Regions from separate parts of the Homo sapiens genome. Here region 2 is linked to region 1. The links are contacts of gene promoters, found by promoter capture Hi-C in blood cells and fetal thymus (Javierre and others, 2016). All regions are on one chromosome and are shown on one strand. The core of a region is centred on a gene start or on the middle of the fragment in contact, and the rest is flanking DNA. Distances in the headings are between cores, read along the strand shown. Region 1 holds the start of UQCRFS1 (ubiquinol-cytochrome c reductase, Rieske iron-sulfur polypeptide 1). Region 2 holds the start of PLEKHF1 (pleckstrin homology and FYVE domain containing 1).

The links. Contacts are between HindIII fragments. The CHiCAGO score rates a contact against its expected background, and 5 or more counts as called.
Region 2: the fragment with the promoter of PLEKHF1 here is called in contact with the fragment with the promoter of UQCRFS1 in region 1 in 1 of 17 cell types (erythroblasts); the score reaches 7.5 in erythroblasts.

The regions. Positions count from the first base shown.
Region 1 is chr19:29,211,250-29,215,637 of GRCh38, forward strand. UQCRFS1 (ubiquinol-cytochrome c reductase, Rieske iron-sulfur polypeptide 1) reads right to left here and starts at 1,902. Exons shown (of 2, transcript NM_006003.3): 1 at 1,656-1,902. The coding sequence starts at 1,869. UQCRFS1-DT (UQCRFS1 divergent transcript) reads left to right here and starts at 2,004. Exons shown (of 2, transcript NR_184022.1): 1 at 2,004-2,159; 2 at 4,032-4,388. RefSeq lists a silencer at 1,496-1,805 and an enhancer at 1,846-2,085. The HindIII fragment of the contact is 13,970 bases long and covers 1-4,388 here.
Region 2 is chr19:29,663,410-29,667,797 of GRCh38, forward strand. PLEKHF1 (pleckstrin homology and FYVE domain containing 1) reads left to right here and starts at 2,052. Exons shown (of 2, transcript NM_024310.5): 1 at 2,052-2,096. It overlaps LOC105372353 (a long non-coding RNA gene), which reads right to left and starts at 1,846. Exons shown (of 7, transcript XR_935896.3): 1 at 1,798-1,846; 2 at 623-798. RefSeq lists a silencer at 1,620-2,289 and enhancers at 1,811-2,364, 2,365-2,918, 2,370-2,489, 3,110-3,159. The HindIII fragment of the contact is 18,952 bases long and covers 1,335-4,388 here.

The DNA.
Region 1 (4,388 bases), core at 652-3,151:
ATTTATGCAGCCAAAAAACACATGAAAAAATGCTCAGCATCACTGGCCATCAGAGAAATGTAAGCCTCCAATTTTTTGAAGAAACTTTAGCAACACGACGAATTCCAAAGATGCTTTTCTTTTGCTATTGAAATGTTCTCCTTCCTTCCTTCTCACCTCCAGGTCCCAAGGATGGGCTAGGGTACTCTACACCTGCCATGGACAGTTTCTTCAAAACCCACTGATGCTCCTTAACAAATATTCATTCACAAATACTTTGCACTAACTGTATACAAAATCCGACGTTGTGAAAGATAGAAAAATAAAGAAGATATTACCTTCTCTATGCCCTTAAGCCCAAGGGTGGAGGAGTTACCAATAAACACAATACAGAGTGTAAAGTGTATGTGCTACAGAGACAGACAAATCAGCAAATAAAAACTTTATTCACCTGATCCTTAACTGAGATTGAAAAGATGGGTAAGGAAAACATATGGACATGTAGCAACTTAGTGGAAGGACCATGAAGAAAGTGCAGAGCCCAGGGTGAATGAAGACAGAGTAAAAAGAAAAGTGGCGGGCAATTTGGTTAGCGTGTAGGGGAAGAGTCACAAACAGCTATCAGTGGAGCCAGGCTGGTAACAGAATGAAACACGCAGACCTGGTAAAGACTGTGACAAACTGGAGAAGACCACTTGCTCCAACTGCGGGGGCGGCCACTACACAGCACACTATGGAATTTTCCCAAGTAGAAACTAGATCCCAGTATTACCGGCTTCCAGCATTTTAAGAGATGCCATTAGTCTTCCCAGTTTTTTTGAAAACTACACAGCCTGCAGACACACTGCCCACAGGCTGCCATTTCTCTATCTCCGATACAGGGCCAAGTAAAGATGGAAGGCGAGGCAAAGAAGATAAACGGGGATCTAAGGACAGAGGGTGTGGAATAGCCCCTGCGAAGAGCTCAGTGGCTACGACAATTCGTCTTGTCAAATCCCTGCTACCACATGTCCACACCACGGATCCTGGTGCGAGTCATTCTACCTCGTCTGTTTTCTCATCTGTAAAATGTAAATGTCGTCAATCTCTGCCCGTCCTTGACGACTGATTATGTTGTGACACTACACTGTAACTGACCTTGTGTATGTTTTTTTTGTTTTTTTTTTGGTGGGGGGGTGATGAAGGGGAAGGACATGAAGGGATCGGTAGTGGTGAGAAGACCAACTTCCCAAATATTAGTAAGTTTCCATTTCTTAAGCATGTAAGTGCCCAAACTGTGCTAACGGCTTTACGTAGAATTCCTCCACCTAAGCCTCACGACACCCCTACAAAATTGATAAAGATATGAATCCATTTCACAGGAAGTACGTTTAGAAACTCGCCCAAGGTCAAACGACCTGCAAGCAACAAAACCCCTCAGAGGTGGCTGGAACAGCGGGACTACAGAGCTCGTGAACTCGGCCGAGGAGGAACCAGGCGAAGCCGGCGGACGCGAGTCCAGGCCGGCCACCAGAAAGACGCCCCGAGCCCGGGGGCCAGGCCCAGAGTTGCGGAGGCCGCCCAGCCCGACCTGATTCAGGCTCCGCTCGCGCGCCCGCGGCCGCTCCCTGCTGGGGGCCGGAGGAGCGGGCACCGAGAGACCCCCAGCCCTGCTCGCGGCCCTCGCCCCGGCTCACCATTGAGGCCCACGGAGGCGACCAAAGGCCGGCGCACGGCCTGGCCGCTCAGCGACTCCCGGCTGAGGAAGGGCCGCTTCAGGTCCAACACAGGCTGCTCCGGGGTGGCGGGCACCGTGGCCTGCACCAAGGGCCGCAGCGCGCCCGCCACCCCGCGGGACGTGGCCGACAGGACGGGCGCGAACGGGCCTGAGCGGGATGCTACCGACAACATGGCGACAGCCGCTCCAACCGCCAAGCCGGTCACAGGGACGACCTTCCAACCACGGCGCAGGCGCGAGGAGGCGCGGGACGCGTGACGACAGCGCGCCGCCGGAAAGGAAATTCTGCAGTCCTGCAGGGCGGGGCAAACTTGGAGAGGCGCTGCGTCGGGGGACGGGGCTACAAGCCGTCGCTGGGGGCGGGGCTTGCGGCCCACCTGTAGGTCCCGGTGCCACCTCGTCAGTGTCCCGAGAGATCCCCAGAAGAACGAGAGGGCTGAACAGGGGACCCCACTGACGTCCGGTGGGCCGACTTTACGATCCTTTAGGGTAAAAATTTCATCTAGGAAGACCTAGAGATAACAATAAACGATTATAGTTTAACTTAGGATGGTAATATATCTCAACTACGACGAAGTCCAGCACATAGTAATCGCTATGTGTTTACTATGATGATTTTTATTATCTTCATCTAACAACAACAACAACAAAAAGGCCAGAGGCATCTGTGCAAAGCTCGATAATGCTAATGGATTATGTTTATTAAGTATTCACTGTGTATTTGGTTTTGCGTTTTATTATACCTACGTTCTTTCATTTGTTATCAAGGTCTCTATGAAGTCAGAGCTATTACTATCAGCATTTTACCCATGAAGAAACCGAGGTTTAGAGAGATTCTTTTCCAGGAACTGGATAGCCAGCAAGATGTGAAGCAGGGTAATCTGTCTCCTGAGTCTATGCTCTTCAGTGCCACCACTGTTTCCCAAAGTAGGATTTTAGAATTTTAGAGGATGCACAGAGCTCGCTCATTCATGTTCCATCACATAGTGAGAAAGTTTTGTTTTCTTTTGTTTTGTTTTTCAATCCTGATTGCACCAATGAGAAAGTCTCAGTTTGGTGCTAATACATCTTTAATTAAAAAAAAAAAAAAGTAGAGATGAGGTCTCACTATATTGCCCACTCCAGTCTCGAACTTCTGGCCTCAAGGAGTCCTGTCTCCCCCTCCCAAAGTACTGGGATTATAGGCATGAGCAAATTCACTTGGCCTCAGTTTGATCCTAATATATCTTTAATTCCTCTCTACACTTATCTCCCACTTTTAACAGAAAAGATCTTGAGTTAGAAGCTCTTAGCAGAGAACTGAGTCTAGAGTGATTTCATTATATGGTTCATAGTATTGATTTTCTATCCATACTGGTTTTCTATTCTGTACTATACTGAGATAAAGTTTTTCATTTAGGTCAAAAATAATTTAAATATTAAGTAAATGTTAATATAAGCAGTGCACAGAATTGGCTCTGTGCTGTGCATGGGCTCTGTGATCTGGGCAAGTTCCCTCACCTCTCTGTGCCTCAGTTTCCTCACCTGCCAAATGGGGGCAGTAATGATGCCATGTGTGTTGTAAAGTTACTGGGAGGAGTAAATGAACTAAAACGTGTAAAGCATCTACAAGCAGGCCCAGCACACAGGCAGCACCAAGTGAGGATTTGCTAGTGGTGTTTTTATCTGAGATGCCACCTCCTCTAAGAAGCCTTCCCTTGATCCTTGCTGACTCGTTGTTATTCCTCATGCCAGGTCCAAAGTGTACTGACAGGTTTCCCCTTTGACCTTCCTATGACTCCCCTTAGGGCCTAGGCTTTGACCAGCCTTATAGCCCAAGGGACTATATTGTACTCTCAAGATTGGAGGCTGCCTCCTCAGGGGCCACCCTAGCCAGGCTCATCACACAGCTGGCTCAGTGCTCTCCCTTGGCAACAACCTTAGGATAAAAGACATTTCCAGAGAAGTTGTCACACAGCATGCATGGTTTGAGTGCTTCACAAGAAATAATATCACAATTCCCTCTGAGTTGGTAAGGAAATGAAAAATGAATGAATGAATGAATGATCCTTCACAAAACCTTCACAATGTCCCAGTTGGGTGAACAGAATAGGAATTATCTCCAGACCTCCTGGGTTCAATTTTAGTTTCACCACTCACTAGCTGTGCCCTAGGGCAAGTTATTTAATCTCTGTGTGTGCCTCCGTCTTTCTCTTGTAAAACAGAGATAATAACAGGATCTACCCTAGAGAGTTATTTTAAGGATGAGATGGATTAATACATGTAAAATGCCTAGAACTGTGCCTGGCACACAGTATGTAAATATCTGCAATAATAATAACTTTCTATTTTCTAGATGAAGAAACTAAGACTCAGAGAAGACAAATGACATGCCCAAAGACACATTGATAAGAACGCATCTGGTAGTGGTGTTCGAGTCCAGCGTTGCAGCAGAGAGATGGGTAACTGTATGGCCGAACAGCTGTCTTCTCGTGGAAGAAGGAGGCCAATGTCCAGGAGTGGCAGGCATACTGGAACTTGGACTTCTGTAGGCCAACCTGGGTTCCACTTGGTAGATGGGGGTCTTGCTGTGTTGCCCAGGCTGGTCTCAAACTCCTGGCCTGAAGCAGTCCTCCTCCCTTAGCCTCCAGAGTAGCTGGGACTACAGGTACACACCACTGCAACCCCTCAGTGGTTGTTATTTAACTGAAGG
Region 2 (4,388 bases), core at 802-3,301, 450 kb after region 1:
GCTGCCCCTTCAGGACTTGTAAACCCAAACGTATATTCATCTGGAGGTGCAAAAGGGGGTAAAGTGCCCCAAGGGGGAAACCAGAGGGAGTGTGGGGACCATAGTGGAGGGGAGAACACAAGGCCCCTCTAAAGAGGACCCGCATTCTCAAATCTTCTGATTTAAGAGAAGCTGAAGATCCTGATTTTTATGTGAACTCTCCCCATATGAAATGTTCACAGCAATGCATTTTAAAAATGTTTAAACACTTTGAAAGCAAACAGACATTATTCGGGTCTTGTGGGGTTCAGGGTTACTTACCAGGCGGTGACTTCTGTTGAATGCTCATAAAAGCTGTCCTTGCTGATGAGGGCAACGGTAGTGGGTGGGCGCCATGAAGTGGTAGTGGGGAGGGGGCTCCCCAAGGCCACAGCTGGTGGCCCTCTCACTTGCCTGTCCCCTCTCCCTCCCCCTCCGTCACCCCCTTTCCCTTCCCTTCTCAGCTGGGAGAGGACCGTCTCCAGCACTGGGCCCACCTCACAGCCTCGCCCATAGCCCCCTGCCAAGAGAGCAGGCACCTCTTCTAGCTCCAGCCCCACAGCCCTACAGCCCATCAGCCCTCCCCCCGCTGCTCCCCTCTCACCTGGTCCTGGCCCAGCAGGCCTGCCCCGGCCTGAGCCACCCCTCTCAGGGTGCCCAGGTGGAGTTCTATTTGGCAAGACAACCTGCATCTATGTGACAGGTAGGGACTGCGTTCCTCCTATGCGCTGCCCGTTCTCAGCACTCGGTATGCAGGGGTGAACCAGAAGAAAGTCCTGTCTGAACACGAGAAGAAATTACTGTCTAGCCCGTGGGGCTCACAGCCTGGGTGGGAGGCAAGCCACCAGCATGACTTGTTTATGAGCATTCCACAGAAGCCACAGCCTGGTAGGCAGCCCTGAATCCCACGAGCGGCCTCAGGAGAGGACTCTGGGTTGGGAGATGCTTTGCAAAATTACAAACACGGGTGACTGTGGAGGGAGATGGGGTGGAGACAGGGAACCGCTTTGGGTGGCCAGGGCAGCCTCCCTGAGGAGGTGACAGTTTGAGGTCTGATGGAGGTAGAAGCAAAGGCCTGAGGCTTTAAGGAACAGGAAGAAGCCCATTTGAGAGGACCTGTGGGGAGGAGGCCAGGGAGGGCCAGGAAGGCCTCCGGGCACTGAGGCCTGGGAATTTCCTTCTGAGCCGCACAGGAGGCTCAGGTGCGGTTGAGTCAGGGGTGACATAACTTGCTGCTAGTGTTGGACCTGGGTGACGGGCACCAGGGTCCCCTGGACTATTCTCTTTCCTTCAGTTTGAAATTTTCCACTATAAAAAGCTTAAAATAGGCCAGGTGCGGTGGCTCACTACTGAAATCCCAGCACTTTAGGAGGTCAAGGCGAGAGGATGGCTTGAGCTAAGGGGTTCGAGACCAGCCTGGGCAACATAGTGAGACCTCCGTCTGTACAAAAATACAAAAACTAGCCGGTCCTGGTGGGCTAATTCTCCTGGGGTCAGGATGATTTCTGTGCAGGCTGCAGTGAGCCGTGACCGCGCCATTGCACTCCAGCCTGGGCGACAGAGGGAGACACCGTCTCAAAAAAAAAAAAAGGTTATAAAGTGCTGCTGCATTTTCATATTACGATTATTGACCGCTGAGGGTGACTGTGCTGTGAGGCCCGCCGGAGGCACCAGAAGGCACAAGCCTCCCACTGCCCCTTTCCCCGCCAAGTCCCGCAGGTCTCGCAGTCGCGGGCGCCCCCACCCCACCCCTGCCCAAGGCCAGGGTCGCAGTCCCACCGGGTGACGGCAGTCGCGCTCCGCGTGGGGCAGCGGCGAGCGGAAAGGGAAGCCGGGCGGGGCCAGGGGGTCAAACACGGGCGACAGTCCCGCCCAGCCCCGGACCTGCAGCGCGCACAAGCTCGGGCGCCCTCCGAGCGCCGCGCCCAAGCCCCGCCCCTCCCGCTTCCCGGGCTCCGATTGGCCGAGCCACCGCGGGGGCGTGTCCGGCGGAGCTGGCCGGGACCCGGGCGGAGCGGGCGGGGACCCGGGCTACTGCGGTGTGGACTCGAGGGCTGGGCGCGGGGCCGGCGCAGAAGGTGAGTCCCCCCACCGTCCCCCGGCCGGGCTGCGGGTCGCGGGGCAGGCGCATGAGGCGAGTCTCCCATCACCACCCCCGGACAAGCGAGCTCTCTCCCGCCGCGCGGTCTTGGCGGCTCCTGGGCCGGCGGGGCGCAGTGCCGCTGACTCCAGCCCAAGAAGAGGCCTGGGAAGGGCGCTCCTGGGCGGCTTGCGGGGTGAACCTGCAGGGAGCCTGGGGAGAGCGGTCAGGGGTCAGAGCGTCCGAGGCGGAATCCCCGGGGAAACGCGCAGATGTAAGCTGGTGGAGGTAAGGGGGTCGCGGGCCACCCGGGACTGCAGGGGTCTCAGCGCACCCGGTCGCTGGTGGTGTTTCCGGGATCCTGGCCTCGTGTGGCCGCCGGGACCTCTCTTCTCAGCCCCAGTCTGCAGTCTGGAGGCCTGGATGGGACCACTGTCCCCCTGGGCAGGGGCGCGGCGGGGGGCGCTGGGGTCCCAGTTCCTCTGGAGCAGTTGAGTTTGTGATTCTTGGTGGGAGCTGCCAAGGGAAACAGGGTCGGGCACTGCTCCCATCTCAGAGAGGAAACTATTGAGCAGGCCCGCAGAGAGAGGCGGCCTGGAATCTCCCTCCTTTCTCGTTTCCCCAACACCTGGCGGGCCGTGTAGGGCAGAGGTGTGGTCAGCCTCTTTGCAGGTGGGAAAGCAGAGAGGTTCCGAGCCACGCTGAAACTTGATCTCTGCAGCCCAAGGGGAGCACTCCTTTGGAATTTGAACACCTCTGGTATCTCCTGGCCAGAGAGGGTCAGAGGCCAAGGAGGTGGGGAGGTAGTCCCCTAATGCGCTGGGATCGTCCCTCTGCACAGCGTCGTTCCCACTGGAGTCTGTTGTGAGCTGAGATGACTCTCTGACTTCGGCCTGCGTCCCTGCACACGTCAGCCCTCCGGGCTGCCAAAACACAGGCCAGGCAGCCCTGGGTGAACTAGGGGACCTGCCCAACCCAGCCCACCCCGAGGAAGGAAGGGGGATTGGCCAGTGTGGCCTGGAGGGTGGGACAGCCCAGCCAAGCTGACGGACCTGCTCGGGATGGGGTGGGCATCAGGCATTTGGAGCGCAGGCAACACCCGCTGGACTCTGACTTCTGGAGTTCTGATTTGGTCTCTGGTTGAGTGCAGCTTTCCACAGCTCATGGTTATTTTGGAGCCGAGCTTCCTGATCACTCAGCAGGGACCTTGGGCAGTGACTTTGATGTGGTGGAAGTACCTTCCCCAAGGGGGCTTTTGTGAGGATTAAGTGAAATAATGAACGTAATATGCTTAACTTTGTGCCTGGTGAGCTCTAAGTGCTCAGTCGGCGGCACTTCCAGTTTTGTTTTGCTTTGTTTTTCATTACCGGTCTCTTCCCGGAGGAGGGCCTTCCAGGAATCACAGGGCTGGACAGAGCCCAGGGGCGGCCCCTCTGGAGGGAGAGGAGGCTTGGCGCCTGATGCTGCAGTCTCAATGCACATGGAGAAAACCTCACATCCTCACGCTGGCCTGGGAGCCTGCAGGATGTCTCCTGCCGGCACTGCAACCTCATCTGTCCTCCTTGCCCCATCGCTCCTTCCTCCGCAGCCTGACTTCACCCATTCCACCTTGAGCTGCTCCCCAGGACCGGAGCTCTGCCCCTAGATCTTTGCACAGCTGACTTCAGGCTGGAGTGAGTTCACTTCCTCCCAAGGCCTTCCTTCCTCGACCTCCACCGTCCTCCCAGGCCCTGCCCTGCTGGGCGCACCAGTCTTTTTCTTCACAGTGTTTAGCACTGGCTCTCAGAAAAGACCCTGTGAATGTACTTCTAGTCTCACTGGCAAGAAGTGTGCATTCCTGAAGGGCCTGGTCTCCAGCTCCCGGCTGTAACCTCGCACAGTGTCTGGCACACAGTGGGACTCATAAATATTTGGAAAATGAAATCAGGCAGGCATGGAAGCAGGGTGGGTCTGCGTGCGGCCCAGGTCCCTGCAGGGAAGGAGGAGCCCCGATCTGGAAGTCAAGGGAAAGTCCAAAGGGCTGAGCTGCCCCCAGAACTCTGATTCCCTTGGTGACCCTGGCCCTGCACGTCCCTGAGCAGGTTCTCCACCTGTAACCCGAGGCAGAGCAGTTACAGCCCCCACCCCATCCCCCACCGCTGCCCAGCTCCTACTTTCCAGGGCTACCATCTTGGGGCCCCACGCATCTCTCATTTATCCAAAATGCTGTGTCCGGAGTAGGAGAGAGGACAGGACGACTCCCGTCAGGACAGTACCTTGTGTGGCCTGTTCAGCGTGCCCTGCAGTGTGT